3 separate regions of the Homo sapiens genome follow, and regions 1 and 2 are each linked to region 3. The links are contacts of gene promoters, found by promoter capture Hi-C in blood cells and fetal thymus (Javierre and others, 2016). All regions are on one chromosome and are shown on one strand. Each heading gives the region's core, a stretch centred on a gene start or on the middle of the fragment in contact. The rest is flanking DNA. Distances are from core to core; before and after follow the strand shown. Region 1 overlaps XPNPEP2 (X-prolyl aminopeptidase 2). Region 2 overlaps UTP14A (UTP14A small subunit processome component). Region 3 holds the start of ZDHHC9 (zDHHC palmitoyltransferase 9).

Region 1 (4,682 bases), core at 2,183-4,682, 93 kb before region 3:
CTGGCAAGCCCATTCCCCCAAAGGGGAGTCCTCATGAATATGTACTGAAAGGCTTGTGCTTTAGAACTGGCTTCTCTGCCAGCCTGTCCAATGGCCTGAACATCACCATTCCTTTTGACTGTGACACTGAAGCCCTGATAAAATAATTAGTGCCCAAGAGAAGGACCACCCACAGCCACTGGCAATGAAAAAGACAAGCTTAGCCAATTTGTGGCAGTCAGTGTTAGAGTAGGCTCAGGGCATTAGGCTTGGAAAGCAGAAAGAGGATGAGAAACATACCCCAGCGTGGGCATACATGCCGGGGGTGGGGGGTGGGCAGGCTGCTGGGGCAGGCTCCGGGCAGCTGGGCTGCAAAGGGAGGCAAAGGGAACCAGGACTAACTTTGCCTGAATCACAATTTTTTCCTGGGGTGTAAATGGGCAAGGGACAAGTGACTCCTTCTTGTCTCTGCAGACACCTGGGAGAGTTATGATCTGGCCCTCCAAGGCTCTAACAGACAGCTGGTGTCCATCACAACCAATCTTGTGGACCTGGTATGGGGATCAGAGAGGCCACCGGTTCCAAATCAACCCATTTATGCCCTGCAGGAGGCATTCACAGGTGATTCAGTAAGCCCAGTTTCCTTCCCAACTTGTAGCAACGCAGGTCCCGGCTGCTATTCCGTAGGTGGCAAACTTCATCATCAGAGGTACCAAAGCAGTGGTTTGCAAACCTTAGCATGCACCTGAGTCACCTGGGATGCTTGTTTAAAATGCAGATTTCAGGGCCCCCTCCCCTTGAGGAGTCTGAATCAAAATGTCCTCCGGCCATATTTAGAAAATGTTGGGTTAAAGAATGTTAGGATTTGAAACAAGATGGAGCAGGAAGGGAGGAAAGAAGGGAAACAGAGAAAGATGAGAGAAAATATCCAACCCCTTTCAAGAGAGAAAAAATCATGATATGATTTGCTTGCCTGGTGGCAGAGACTGATCCATAATGAATCATTCAGACCTTTACTTCTGACCCTCTTGTGATGAAGAATTTAGATTTGTGAGATGGCTGGGGTCAGGTGGGCCAGGAGTGGACAGAGGAAGTAAATAACTAAGTTCAGAGTCATTCTGTAGCACAGATTACAGTTCAGGTTTTGCTGGACCAATCAGGAAGGTTAGAAAAATATAACATCAATAACCTTGACCCCGTTGACACTATCTAAATCCATCACAAAAGAACAGTATGTTGTAAGATTCCTGTAAGTCGTAACTAAAGTCCTGACCAGGACCAGCCTACTGATTATGAATCAGTGTCTTGGCCACCAACCAGTCCTATCTCCCTGGGAATTCTGAATGAGCCAATGAACTTGGATTCCTAGTAACATTGATCAAGCCAAGAGATCCCTTTCCGCATGCAAGTCCACATAATTTCTCACTTAGAAAGGAGCCAATACAGCAGGAGGGAGATTTCAAAATAGCAGCCATGACGAAACAAGTGAAAATTGTGTCCATTTTTCTTTATCTGTTCTGATGTAACTTCCAGAATCATTCTTTCTGCATCTTGACACCATTTTTAAAGAAATTTGTTATCCAAGACTGTTAAATCATAAATAAAACTCATCTTATTCAGATAAAGAAAGTCAAAGTTATGTCGGGAAGGGGAAGGGAAAAAAGAAAAACCTTCCTGGGGCTGGAAGGGTTTTGTCACTTCCCAAAAGTGAGGGGATGCCGAGTCATCACCCGCTGCCAGTCTTCAAGAAAAAGGCACCTGGAGCTTGAGTTTGGAAGCCGAAGAACAGAGTTCAGCTTCAATAAGCTTATAAAGACGAGAGAGACTTTCCAGCCACTTGCAGATTTTAAAGGAGAAAGGAGAGTGCAAAGGGCAGAACATGAAAAGTTCGCTACTCAAACATACCTGTACGCACCAGACCATTGAAATTTGGGTTCATTTGGTTTCTCAGAAAGGTATCATATTCCTGAACCTTGAAAACATAATTGCAAGTGAAAGAAGCCAGTCAGAGAAGGCCACATATTGTACAATTCCATTTGTATGAAATATCCAGCACTGGCAAATCCATAGAGACAGAAAATAGATTAGGGATTTCCTGGGGCTCAGGGGAGGGGGGATAGGGAGTGACTCCTTAGTGAGTACAGGGTTTCCTTTGGGGATGAAGAAAATGTTCTAGAATTAGATCGTGGCGATGGTTGCACAACATTGTGAGTATGCTGAAAGCCACTGAATTGTGCACTTTAAAAAGATTAAAATGATATGTTTTATGTTATGTGTAAAATACACATAACATAAATTATGTGTAAAATATGTAGTAAAATAAACCTACAAAAATGTATTGTACCCAAAGCTTTGGTCATTGTTGAATAGTTTTACCTGTTCACATGAAATATTTTTCACGACATTAAGTTATTTATGCTCATATCTGAACCCAACTAGGACCCTTAATGTTTATGGCCTTCGGCCAGCAAACTCCTAGTCCTGCCTAGGGGTAGACTCTTTGAATATCTTGCAGGGGGCAGGGATAGAAGATGAAAACTAAAGTCATAGAACCCAGATATAAGCATCTGAGAAAGGACGGTGCTGTGACACAGAGTTTAAGGACAGATTTGGAGACTGAGAATGTTATCAAGACAGTACGGTGTCTGTACAGATTAAGAGCGTGGGCCATGCAGTCAGACAGACCAGAGTTCAAATCCCAGCTCTACCTCTTGCATCCATGAAACCCTAGACAAGTCACTTTACCTCTCTGAAGCCTCAGTTTCCTTATCTGTAAAATGGGATGGGTAAGAATTAGAACAATGCACATGGAGTGCTTAGCCCAGTACCCGTGGCTTAGTAAATACTGGGGTTACTGCAGAGAAAGTTGAACACGGCCCCAGCCCTACCCCTTTGTCCTTCAACTAGGACTGCTCTCTTGATCTCAGTCTGCATGATTATTTATTAATCAGAAAGATACAAGAGTTACTACATCTCAAGATACCATTCTGTGTGCTTTACAAATATTAATTCATTCCATCCTCATAGCAGCCCTATTGAGGCAGATGCTTATTATACTCCATCCCCATTTTACAAATGTGCAAAATGGAACACAGAGGGGTTAGGTAATTTGCCCAAGGTCACCCATCCAGTAATGGCAAAGCCAGGATTTGAGCCCCATCTGGGTCCAGGGCCCATGTCATTAATGAGTACACAAGTAAGAGTTTGTTTGAGGAAAGGGTTTCGCTGCTTTTTAAGAGGATGCAAAACTGTTACCCTAAGGCTGACCTTCCAGGAACCGAGTGCCAAAGGCAAGGTCTGTCACTTACACTTTTTTGGGGCTCCTTTGCTTCTAGGGAGCACTTGGCAGGAGAAAGTATCTGGCGTCCGAAGCCAGATGCAGAAGCATCAAAAGGTCCCGACTGCCGTCCTTCTGTCGGCGCTTGAGGAGACGGCCTGTGAGTGTGGATTTGCAGACATGGGTGGGCGCCTGGGTCTCCCCAATGCCCCAAGCCTCCCGGGCCCTGCAGCACAGAGCTAGCTCTTCCCCAAATAACCATGTGCCCACCAATTCTTGAGAACTCCATGGCCACAGCCCGTGGGAACCAAGAAGGGTAAGGGGGCAGGAGCTCATGGCTTCAGAAAAAGGACAAAAGGTAGCCCTGAGCAAGCTGGGACCAGCCCACAGGCCACCAGAGGAACGAACTGACTATGGCAGCAAAGTGCTTCTGTCCCACTAAGGGGAGGAGGACCAGGAAATGCCTCCCAACAACTTAGCCACTACCCCAGGGCACTCACACTCCCAGCTTTAGCACCCAGTGGGACTCTACTCTTTCCGACATGGCTCAGGACTTCTTGTCTGATCCCTATGGCTGGGCTTCAGATATTCCAGGGACCCACTGGAACTGTGTGCTGACTGCTAAGTATCTGCATTTTTCTGGGGGGAAAAGATCCATAACTCTCAACAGCATCTCAAAGACGCCCACTCCCCCACCCCCCCCCCCCGGCAAAAAGATTGAGTAACATGCAGAGGTAGATGATACAAGCATGCTGTTGGTAATCTTTGGAGGCCAAAGGAAACAGTGGGGCAAAAGTGTCAGAAATGCTTGCCTCTGGCCGGGTGCGGTGACTCACGCCTGTAATCCCAGCACTTTGGGAGGCCAAGGTGGGCGGATCACCTGAAGTCAGGAGTTCAAGACCAGCCTGACCAACATGTTGAAACGCCGTCTCTACTAAAAATACAAAAATTAGCTGGGCATGGTGGCAGGCATCTGCAAACCCAGCTACCTGGGAGGCTGAGGCAGGAGACTTGCTTGAACCTGCGAGGTGGAGATTGCAGTGAGATCTTGCCACTGCACTCCAGCCTGGGTGACAGAGCAAGATACTGTCAAAAAAGAAAGAAAAGAAAGAAAAAGAAAGAAAGGAAGAAAGAAAGAAAGAAAGAAAGAAAGAAAGAAAGAAAGAAAGAAAGAAAGAAAGAAAGAAAGGAAGGAAGGAAGGAAGGAAGGAAGGAAGGAAGGAAGGAAGGAAGGGAGGAAGGAAAGAAGGAAGGAAGGAAAGGAAAAAAAGAGGAAAAGAAAAGCTTGCCTCAGGCAGATCAGCATTAAATATTCCTTGTCAATTCTCTTCCCAGGGCTCTTCAACCTTCGAGCCAGTGACATCCCCTATAACCCCTTCTTCTATTCCTACACGCTGCTCACAGACTCTTCTATTAGGTATGGCTT
Region 2 (4,964 bases), core at 1,827-4,326, 82 kb after region 3:
TTGGCTCAGCCTCCCAACTAGCTGGGACTACATGCACGTGCCACCATGCTGAGCTAAGTTTTTGTAGAGACTGAGGTCTTGCTCTGTTGCCCAGGCTGGTCTTGAATTCCTGGCCTCAAGCTATCCTCTCACCTCAGCCTCCCAAAGTGTTAGGATTACAAGTGTGAGCCACCGCACCCAGCCTCCTTTTTTTTTTCCTTTTTTTTTTTCAGGTTTCCACATACAAAAATTTATTTTAAAAGAGCTATCATTTAGAATATATTATAGGGACCTTTACTTAATAGTTTTGGCTGGATATTTTTGGGATTAATAATTGCAAGTAGTCACTTCTGAGAGAATTTTGGAAAGCAGCACAGCGGGCTGAGATTGTGGGGGTGTACATATATGACCACAGGACCCTAGTGGCTTTCTCTTGAGCCCCCTCAACAACTGGCCATCTAGCTAAATGTGCAGAGCGGCTGACTGTGATATGAAAGAATGAAAGATAGATTTGCATTTCCTTGGACAGTAAATAAATTGAATTTTCTCACACCTTCCAAGAGTGTCCTAAAATACTGGAAAGCCACGGACCCCAGTGAAAATGAGCAAGGAAACCTGATTCTTGAGAAATAAACGTACATGTGTCCAAAGGCCAGATCTAAGGAGCTACAATGGCTTCATGCCAAAGCTAGACAGCAGGATCAACTTGGGAATGGAGGCAACTTGAGTCAATGAAAAAGACAGTTTAGAAGCATGTCACTGCCAGGTTTCCCTCCAGACTGTTTTGAGACAGGTCTCTGTCATACAGGCTGGAGTGCAGTGGTGCAACCTCGGCTCACTGCAAGCTCCACCTCCCAGGTTCAAGCAATCCTCCTGCCTCAGCCTGCAAGTAGCTGGGATTACAGGCATATGCCACCACGCCCAGCTAATTTTTGTATTTTTAGTAGAGACAGGGTTTTGCCATGTTGGTCAGGCTGGTCTCAAACTCCTGGCTTCAAGTGAATCACCCATTTCGGCCTCCCAGAGTGCTGGGATTACAGGTGTGAGCCACTGTGCCAAGCCAGCCCCTCCAGACTCTTGAGACTAGTGTTATTTGCTCAGATGTTGCCAGTGAAAGTGTGAGCTACATCCACTGGATAAAGCAGCTACTTCATCCCTTGACTCAGCCACAGCAGATTATGAAATACTGCTTTAAGATATGGAGTAGAAATTCTTGAGTCAAGATGAAAATCCTGGATAGGGTTTTTACAAGCAGTGAAGCATAAATTACAATGAAGTTACATTGAGAAGCCACCTGTTAAAGTGGCTTCCTTTTTTAAAATTTGGAACTTGGGGCAATCTTCCCAAGCAGGGTTTACTGCACGAGGAACTTAAGCCACAGTCCCAGTTATACAGTGGATCATTGGCAAAGCTGGGAATAGGACCCAGGACGTCTGCTTCCAATATGCTACTTTTTTTTTTTTTTTGAGACGTCTTGCCCTGTTGCCCAGGCTAGTATGCAGTGGCACAGTCACAGCTTCCTGCAGCCTTGACCTTCTGGCTCCAGCAATCCTCCCAGCTTAGCCTCCCAAGTAGGTGGGACTACAGATCCACACCGCCATGCCTGGAAATTTTTTGTTGTTGTTGGAGGGGTGGAGGTGGTAGAGATGAGTTCTCACTATGTTGTTCAGGCTGGTCTCGAACTCCTGGGCTCAAGCTATCCTGCCCCCTTGGCCTCCCAAAGTGCTGGCATACAGGCGTGAGCCACCATATCCAACATCTCACATGCTACTTTTTTTTTTTTTTTTTTTTTGAGACGGAGTCTCGCTCTGTCACCTAGGCTGGAGTGCAGTGGCACAATCTCGGCTCACTGCAACCTCTGCCTCCCTGGTTCAAGTGATTCTCCTGCCTCAGCCTCCTGAGTAGCTGGACTACAGGCACATGCCACCATGCCCAGCTAATTTTTTGTATTTTTAGTAGAGATGGGGTTTCACCGTGTTAGCCAGGATGGTCTCGATCTCCTGACCTCATGATCTGCCCGCCTCGGCCTCCCAAAGTGCTGGGATTACAGGTGTGAGCCACCGCACCTGGCCACATGCTACTTTTAATTACCAAACTCCGTTGCCTGCTATGATTAGTGTACTGTCTAGGAGATTCAATGTACAGAATCTTCTTTTCCCCGTTTGTCCTTTTTATAATGTCTTATGTGGTACCTAGCACTTGGTGGGTGCTCAACAAATGCTTACCGACCAGACAACGTACAAACCTCATTTTCTGACAGTTTTCATTCTTTTTTCCCCCAGATTCTGGCAGCCAGGAGGTGCTGTCTGAATTGAGAGTACTATCTCAGAAATTGAAGGAAAACCATCAGTCCAGGAAGCAAAAAGCAAGTTCAGAGGGGACTATTCCCCAGGTCCAGAGAGAGGAACCTGCCCCAGAAGAAGAGGAGCCCCTGTTGCTACAGAGACCAGAGAGAGTACAGACGCTGGAAGAGCTAGAAGAGCTGGGAAAAGAAGAATGTTTTCAAAATAAGGAGCTTCCCAGACCTGTGTTAGAAGGGCAGCAGTCAGAGAGGACCCCAAATAATCGCCCTGATGCCCCTAAGGAGAAGAAAAAGAAGGAGCAAATGATCGACCTACAGAACCTCCTAACCACACAATCTCCCTCCGTGAAGTCTTTGGCAGTTCCCACAATAGAGGAGCTGGTGAGCAGAGCCAGGGTGGTGGGCCATTGTTCAGAAAGTGTCGTTCTTGCGCAAGGAGTAATGAAGCTTTGTTTTGCTGGGGGCACATTTCAGTAGTTTAGAGGTCCAGAATAGTATAGGGCCAGGCTAGTCCCAGTGACGTTTTAATAGATGCAGATATATGGGTGCTGCCAAGACCCCTATTTCCGAAAGCCTGATCCACAAAAACTCCTCTGGGGTGACTCTAAAACTGCTCTCAGAGGTAAGAGGGAGTAACTCAGAGTTCTGACCAGATCCCAGGCAGGACAACTTGAAGGTGAGTCATTGAACTGTTGCGAAAGTTTTATTCAGTGGGATCTCAGATGGTCTAAGACTCCCCAGTTAATCTGAAACTTAAAGTGAAGCGTCCTGGCACCTGTCTTTTCAGGGATATAAGCTGGAGGAAGCCTACAGTCTGGCCACTTAGAGCTCCTGCTGCTAACACGGGCCATTCCTTCCTCCACCCTGCAGCTTCCTTACTGAAAAGTTTAAAATTGTGTCATATGATAATGAGCTAGGGATATTTACCCTAGAGGGAAGAAAATTTGAGCATGATTGGCTGTGCACTGGTTTGTATCGCAAGACCATCATTGTTCAGCACTTCCCCCTAGGGGGCGCTAAAATGTCACGACCCGAAATTCAAGCGTTCTCGCCATGAACCACAGCTCATAAGCCAAGCTGTAGCTCTCGCTTGTTTCTTCCCAGGAAGATGAAGAGGAGAGAAACCATAGGCAGATGATAAAGGAAGCTTTTGCTGGGGATGATGTCATCAGAGATTTCTTGAAAGAGAAGAGGGAAGCTGTGGAGGCGAGTAAGCCAAAGGACGTGGACCTGACACTACCTGGCTGGGGCGAGTGGGGTGGTGTGGGCCTAAAGCCCAGTGCCAAGAAAAGACGCCGGTAAGAATGCCGAAGAAAGTCTGTCAAAAGGGCACCGGGTTCTCCCCTCGCCCTTCGGTGTCCTCCCTACCCTTTTGACTAAGTCCTTAATGCTCCTAGTCAGATGTCCTGTTGTTTTGCTTTCCAGGTTTCTCATTAAAGCCCCTGAGGGTCCTCCAAGAAAAGATAAGAATTTGCCAAATGTGATTATCAATGAGAAGCGCAACATCCACGCAGCTGCTCATCAGGTGAGAGCTTAGAGAGCTCTTTAGCTGCCTGCTTGTTACTGCCTGGCTCTCTTGCTTGAGAGGAGTATTCTAGTGATCTGTAGTCAAGAGAGACGTGTGATCTTGACCGCAGAATCAAATCTGTTGTTTTCACTGAATGGCTGTTAGATTTATCATTTCAGATAGACTACGCTGTTTTAATTACTGGCCAGGAAAAAAGTTTAGAGTCAAGGTAATGCTCAAACAGAGGCTATAAGGTTTAAGCTGTAGCTTAAGAAAAATGAAGACAAACCGGTACTTGTTCAGGAGAATGAGAAGATTGTAAGTTGTGTCACATGATAATGAGCTAGGGATGTTTACAAGAGAAGAAAATTTGAGCGTGATTACGGTGTTCAAGTATATCGAAGGTTATTGTATGAAGTCACATAAAGTAGAAGTTAGAGGACATACAGAATTCAAGGCTGCTCTGGGAGTATGAGAATGTGTAAAGGGGACTCAAGAACGAGATTGGACTAGATGACCTTTATGTTCCCTTCAATTCTGAGATCTGTCCCCAGCCAGTATATTGAAATGAGTTACATTTTTCCCTCGGAAGGAATAAAGAATTAATGGCTACAGAACAGAGGTAAGAAGATACACATTTCAATAACATTCTTTTTGATCTTATTTTGTGAACCAATCACTGCAGAAACTGAATCATAACTACTGCAGTCCCAATTAAACCTATATAACTAGAAAATAGGCAGTTACACGATAAGGGAAGGGGGGAAAGGGTGCTTCAGTGGGCCAGGATTCCAGGTGATGGGTAGAGTATGGAGCTCAATAAAGACCACCCTTCCCTTCCAGGGGTCTGTTTGTTTTTTTAATACAGTCATGGCAAACTGACAAATAGTTTTCTAGGAATCTCCCCTGATTTTCATCTTTTTAATAAGTTACTGCAGGTTCCAACATGCAGTAGAATAAAGTGCTTCAAGGTGCCTAGGGGGGACTTCTGAGACTGAATACTTTGTCCAGGTGTTCTCTTTTTCTGTTGCCCTGGTTGACAAGCACAGATGTAGCCGTCAACCCAAATAAGACATTCCCTTAACTTAAAGAGAATCTGTTTCCTTTGCTACTACCAGGACCACCTGATAGTACTTAGCTTCTCTTGAGTATTCCACTGAATGTTTCCAGAGACTA
Region 3 (4,725 bases), core at 67-2,566:
ACCTCCCTCCCTTCCTCCACTTCACCTTCTTTCTTCAATTAGCCACTCGAATATGAATCACAGCAGGGAACAAGTCACCCTCTGGCAGGGCCAGGAGGTTCTGGACGCTCTGTGCACATACGTGCATTGTATTTACACAAAACAGATTTCCCCTCATCAAACCCTCTGCAACTTCCTGAGTCCGGGAAATGAAACAATCTGGCTGGTCTAGCCTAACATTTGTGAGAATCTTAATGAAACCACATCAGAGACCTGTAGGTGAAAGGCTGACTTAAGCAGGAGAGATTCTGGAATGGTTGGTGACTGCTGATGGCTGGTTGGGGGGTGGGGAATGGCAGCAGCTAAGAAAAGTCACAAGGGCGCTTTCTGGGACATGTCCTAAGTACCATCTCTACTCAGCATCCTGAATTCCCAGGCCCAGAGTTTCTCAGCCTCTGCTACCCTTCTCCTCCGCTCAGGTGTGGTGTTGTGGCCTCTATTTACCGACACCACATGCCCCACGCTGGCAGGACTGAGGCGGAAGCCTGCAGCCCGACGGACGGAGGGAGAAACAGCCAACTCGCGGGCTGGAGAGGGCAAAGGTCCAAAAACAGCCTAGGAGCGGAGCAGGGAAACGAGAAGGTAGAAGGTTCGGGGAAGGGGAGGGGGGCCCAGAGGTGCAGAGAACCCGTCCTTTGTGTAAAACTAACCTGGAAGACAATCTCCTCCCGATAAACCGGCCCAGCGGGAGAAGGGAGACCAGGAAGGGGGAGCCGGCCTGGAAGAACAAAGATCAAAATCCGTCGGGAAGCAGCGACCGGCTCCCCAGCGGGGGGCCGGAGGCCGGAGGCCGGAGTCCGGGGCCGAGCCGCGGGCGCGGCCTCTCGAGGCCCGCCCTGACTCCGCCACGCCGCGGACCACCGCCCCAGGCAGGTTGGGACGCGCGCCACATCCACACGCACACGCAGCCACACGCTCGTACACACTCACACACGCCCCGCCACGTGTAGTCACCCCGGGCCAGGGGCTCGGCGGCTGCCGAGTTGAGAAGGGCGGTGCCGACGTCCCCGCCTCCAGGCGCCGCGGAAGGGGAGGCAGCCCACCCTGCAGCCGAGCCCAGGAGACCCCCGCCCCCACCCCTCGTTACCTGAACCACGGAGACCCAACTCGGCCGGCAGCTGACGGCAGGAAACGGACCGTCCCAGGGAATCACGTCGGCAGCCAAAGGTGGCAGCGACTTGTCCTCCCCGGGCCGGGAGGCTGTCTCCTCCTGACAAGGGGCCCCAGTGGTCGGGGCCCTAAACCAGCTGTGGCAACCGCCCACCACTGGCCAAATGGAACGCTCCTCACGTCACCAGGTCGCTCCAGTAGTTGCTCGCCCTCTATTGGCCGATCGGCCTCGGCGCCTCCGCCCCGGCCGCCCCTATCCCGAACTGCCATTGGTTTTGCCTAACGCCACTCGACGATGCCTCCGCCCACTCCTCCACCCATCTCCCTGCTGCATGCCCACCTGCCAAGCCACTGCCAGCCTCTCTTTGGGGTCTGAGCGCCAGTATGTGAAGTGTTGCCTTCTATTAATATAGTTACGCAGAGACGGAGGTTAAGGGTAGTGCCGATGGGACAGCAAAGGGTGGAACCAGCCTACACACACGCGCGCGCGCGCGCACACACACACACGCGCGCGCACACACACACACAGTGAGATGCTGAAGCAACACTAGCTCACAGATCCGGGTGCTCACCCCAAACTAGGTCTGCCATGGGCCTCTCCAGCCCTGCTTGCATTTTAAAATCAACCGCAACTTGAGATTTTACTCTTTATCGGCATAAAAACAAGTCATCTGCCTCCCAAGTCTCATTCAGTAGCCAGGGACCCCATATCTGTCCCAGTCACCCTAGCCTGCATCTCTAAGTCTTTCAAATCAAAACACACAAACAAGCATAAAAAGCATGTTGTAAAGGATAAATGTCCCCAAGAACGTATTATCATTTTGCAGCACCTAAAACAACTAATTGACATTAATGGAGTTAAAGAAACTCCACTGAGGACATAAATTCTTCCAGGTAGGTAATGAAGTAAAGATTGCCAAAAAGGTTGTAAATTTTTATTCGGTTTGGAAAGCTTATGATGATTAAGGGGAGAATCCAAGGCAGAATTCCCACCCACCAACCAGATTGATTTTTTCCTTCTGCCACCCAGCTCTGCATTACTGCCACCATGAGCCACTGCTACTGATCCGAGTGAGTTGCATGCATTAAAAGTTTGAGATTGGGCTGGGCGCGGTGGCTCACGCCTGTAATCCCAGCACTTTGGGAGGCCGAGGCAGGTGGATCACCTGAGGTCAGGAGTTCAAGACCAGCCTGGCCAACATGGCAAAACCCGTCTCTACTAGAAAGACAAAAGTTAGCGGGGAGCGGTGGGACTCGCCTGTAGTCCCAGCTACCAGGGAGGCTGAGGCAGGAGGATCACTTGAACCCAGGAGGTGAAGGTTGCAGTGAGCCAAGATCATGCCACTGCACTCCAGCCTGGGCGACAGAGAGAGACCCTGTCTTAAAAAAAAAAAAAAAAAAGTTTGAGATTGAAGGGGGGAAACAATTGAGAACCACAGTATTATACTATAGGGTGACTTTAAAAGACACTAGGTCTGTTTTCACCAGTATGGCTCCTGCCTTCCAAATATAAGAGGAAATATGAGAAAAGGTTGAAGGTGGCATCTCCTTTCCAAGTGTAAGAGGAGATAAGAGAAAAGGTTGAAGATTGGAGGAGAATGCCTACATTACCAGCCTAGGTTTTCCTAAGCGTGATAAAAATTTCAAAGTTTTAGAGATTTGGTATTTGGAATTAGTACAGAAGAGACTGCCAAAGCTCTTCCTAAGGCAGTTGTATGTTAGTTGAAGGACCACATACATGGTCAAGAACTATTTTTCCTTTACAGTATATGTGTCCCACACAATATGAAACAAAAAGCTACATAATAATTACATTTGACACTTTCATGGCACCCTTCAAAATTCTTAAAGGATTTAAAAAACACTAGGTAATTCTGAGATGTGTTGTAATTAACTTGCAAAGGAAGGTTTGTCTTTATAAAGCTTCCATTGTTCCTTAGCACTCATGCTGATTATGATCAACAGTTTATTCCTCATGAAGTGTACGATCAGTATCATTGCCTCCAATTCTCCCGCTTTGAATTCTGGAGGGTGCTGGTATTGCACACACTTGGTATGGGAGGGAGAAGAACTTCCCTAAACCTCATCAGCCCTGTGGATTTCCAAGCCTATGTATATCAGATGCCCTTAGGAATAGTATGGTCACCCCAGCTGCCATCCTTCTGACTATGGAGCAGTGAAAAATAAGCCTCTGTAGCACTCAAACATATTTTGTCCATAGCTCAGGTGCAGGTGAAGCCTGAGGAGTCCTGGAATCGATGTGTCATGGTGACACATTCCTGAGCTCTGTCCCTCCCTGCTCTGGGTCACATTCCCTCTCGGACTAAGTGGCTATGTGAGTCAGGCTTGTTTTATTACAATCTGTTATTATTTATTCTCAACACTCAAAGAAAAATAAGGAAAATTTATGTGGACAAACATCCCATAGTACTTCCTCCTATGTAGTTACATCATTTTATATAATCCTTAAAGTCTTAATACACACACACAACTAAATTGTGACTATAAACTGAGACTGTTTTTTCCTATTCTTTTCTCTTCTCTTTTCAACAGACTTCCCACTTTTTACATCCAAGTCAGTGTTGGCTCTTTTGAAAAGAGGTTATAGGCCGGGCACAGTGGCTCACGTCTGTAATCCCAGCACTATGGGAGGCCAAGGCAGGCAGATCACTTGAGGACAGGAGTTTGAGACCAGCCTGGCCAACATGGTGAAACCCTATCTCTAGCCAGGCATGGTGGCAGGTGCCTGTAATCCCAGCTACTCAGGAGGCTGAGCATGAGAATCACTTGAATCTGGGAGGCGGAGGTTGCAATGAGCCCAGATCGCTCCACTGCACTCCAGCCTGGACGACAGAGCGAGATTCCATCTAAGAGAGAGAGAGAGAGAGAGAGAGGGAGAGAAAGAAAGAAAGAAAGAAAGAGAGAGAAGAAAAGGGGTTATAGTCATGTGATGAGCACTAGAAACACCACAAAAATCAAGGTATAGCCTTCCAGTTTATAAGACAGCTCCTTGTGTTATCATGTATGTTCTGGAGTATTTGTTTAAAAATACCTGTCTCCACATTTATTCTTCATGTGTGTGTGTTTGTGTGTGTGTGTGTGTGTGTGTAGGCGTGTGTAGGTGTAGGTGTAATGTGCTGTTTGATCCTGAGTGCCACCACTGGGTTGAAGCTTTCCTGTTAGTGTTGCTTCAAAGACTCTTCTGTAACCACCCGGAGACCCATTCAGTACTACATCCAGGAGCAGACATAAAGCATCAGCCCCCATCCTGCTTTTGAGCTCATGATAGCTCCTTTATTCTCTATTTTCTGTAGCCTCAAACTTGTCATGTCACTTTGCCCTCCTCCCCACACACACAGCCCTTTCCACCCCACCTCTCTGACTTGCACATCTCTTTCTGCTTTCTGGCTATAAATGCATGTGTGTGTAGAACGAATTGATGAACAAAAGAATGAACCACGGAATGCCCTACCCACGCATGATGAGCTAGTATTCTTAAGCAACATCTGTTTCTCTGAGGCCTGGGCTGCTATCACTGACATAGAAGATCCAGGATGGTAGGTAGCTCAGAAAGCA

The links. Contacts are between HindIII fragments. The CHiCAGO score rates a contact against its expected background, and 5 or more counts as called.
Region 1: a fragment that was not itself captured here is called in contact with the fragment with the promoter of ZDHHC9 in region 3 in 6 of 17 cell types (activated CD4 T cells, neutrophils, non-activated CD4 T cells and 3 more); the score reaches 10.8 in activated CD4 T cells.
Region 2: a fragment that was not itself captured here is called in contact with the fragment with the promoter of ZDHHC9 in region 3 in 13 of 17 cell types (activated CD4 T cells, M2 macrophages, M0 macrophages and 10 more); the score reaches 11.2 in activated CD4 T cells.

What each region holds. Positions count from the first base shown.
Region 1 is chrX:129,747,154-129,751,835 of GRCh38, forward strand. It overlaps XPNPEP2 (X-prolyl aminopeptidase 2), which reads left to right. Exons shown (of 21, transcript NM_003399.6): 7 at 454-600; 8 at 3,315-3,416; 9 at 4,592-4,673. Among named protein-coding and RNA genes, the nearest start is that of XPNPEP2, 11 kb to the left of the region's middle. The HindIII fragment of the contact is 2,211 bases long and covers 2,328-4,538 here.
Region 2 is chrX:129,922,534-129,927,497 of GRCh38, forward strand. UTP14A (UTP14A small subunit processome component) reads left to right here. Exons shown (of 15, transcript NM_006649.4): 12 at 2,262-2,662; 13 at 3,386-3,579; 14 at 3,707-3,806. The region is part of intron 2 of LOC105373335 (a long non-coding RNA gene); the gene reads right to left. Among named protein-coding and RNA genes, the nearest start is that of UTP14A, 19 kb to the left of the region's middle. RefSeq lists a silencer at 3,201-3,250. The HindIII fragment of the contact is 700 bases long and covers 2,727-3,426 here.
Region 3 is chrX:129,842,570-129,847,294 of GRCh38, forward strand. ZDHHC9 (zDHHC palmitoyltransferase 9) reads right to left here and starts at 1,317. Exons shown (of 11, transcript NM_016032.4): 1 at 1,127-1,317; 2 at 690-757. The HindIII fragment of the contact is 4,624 bases long and covers 1-2,099 here.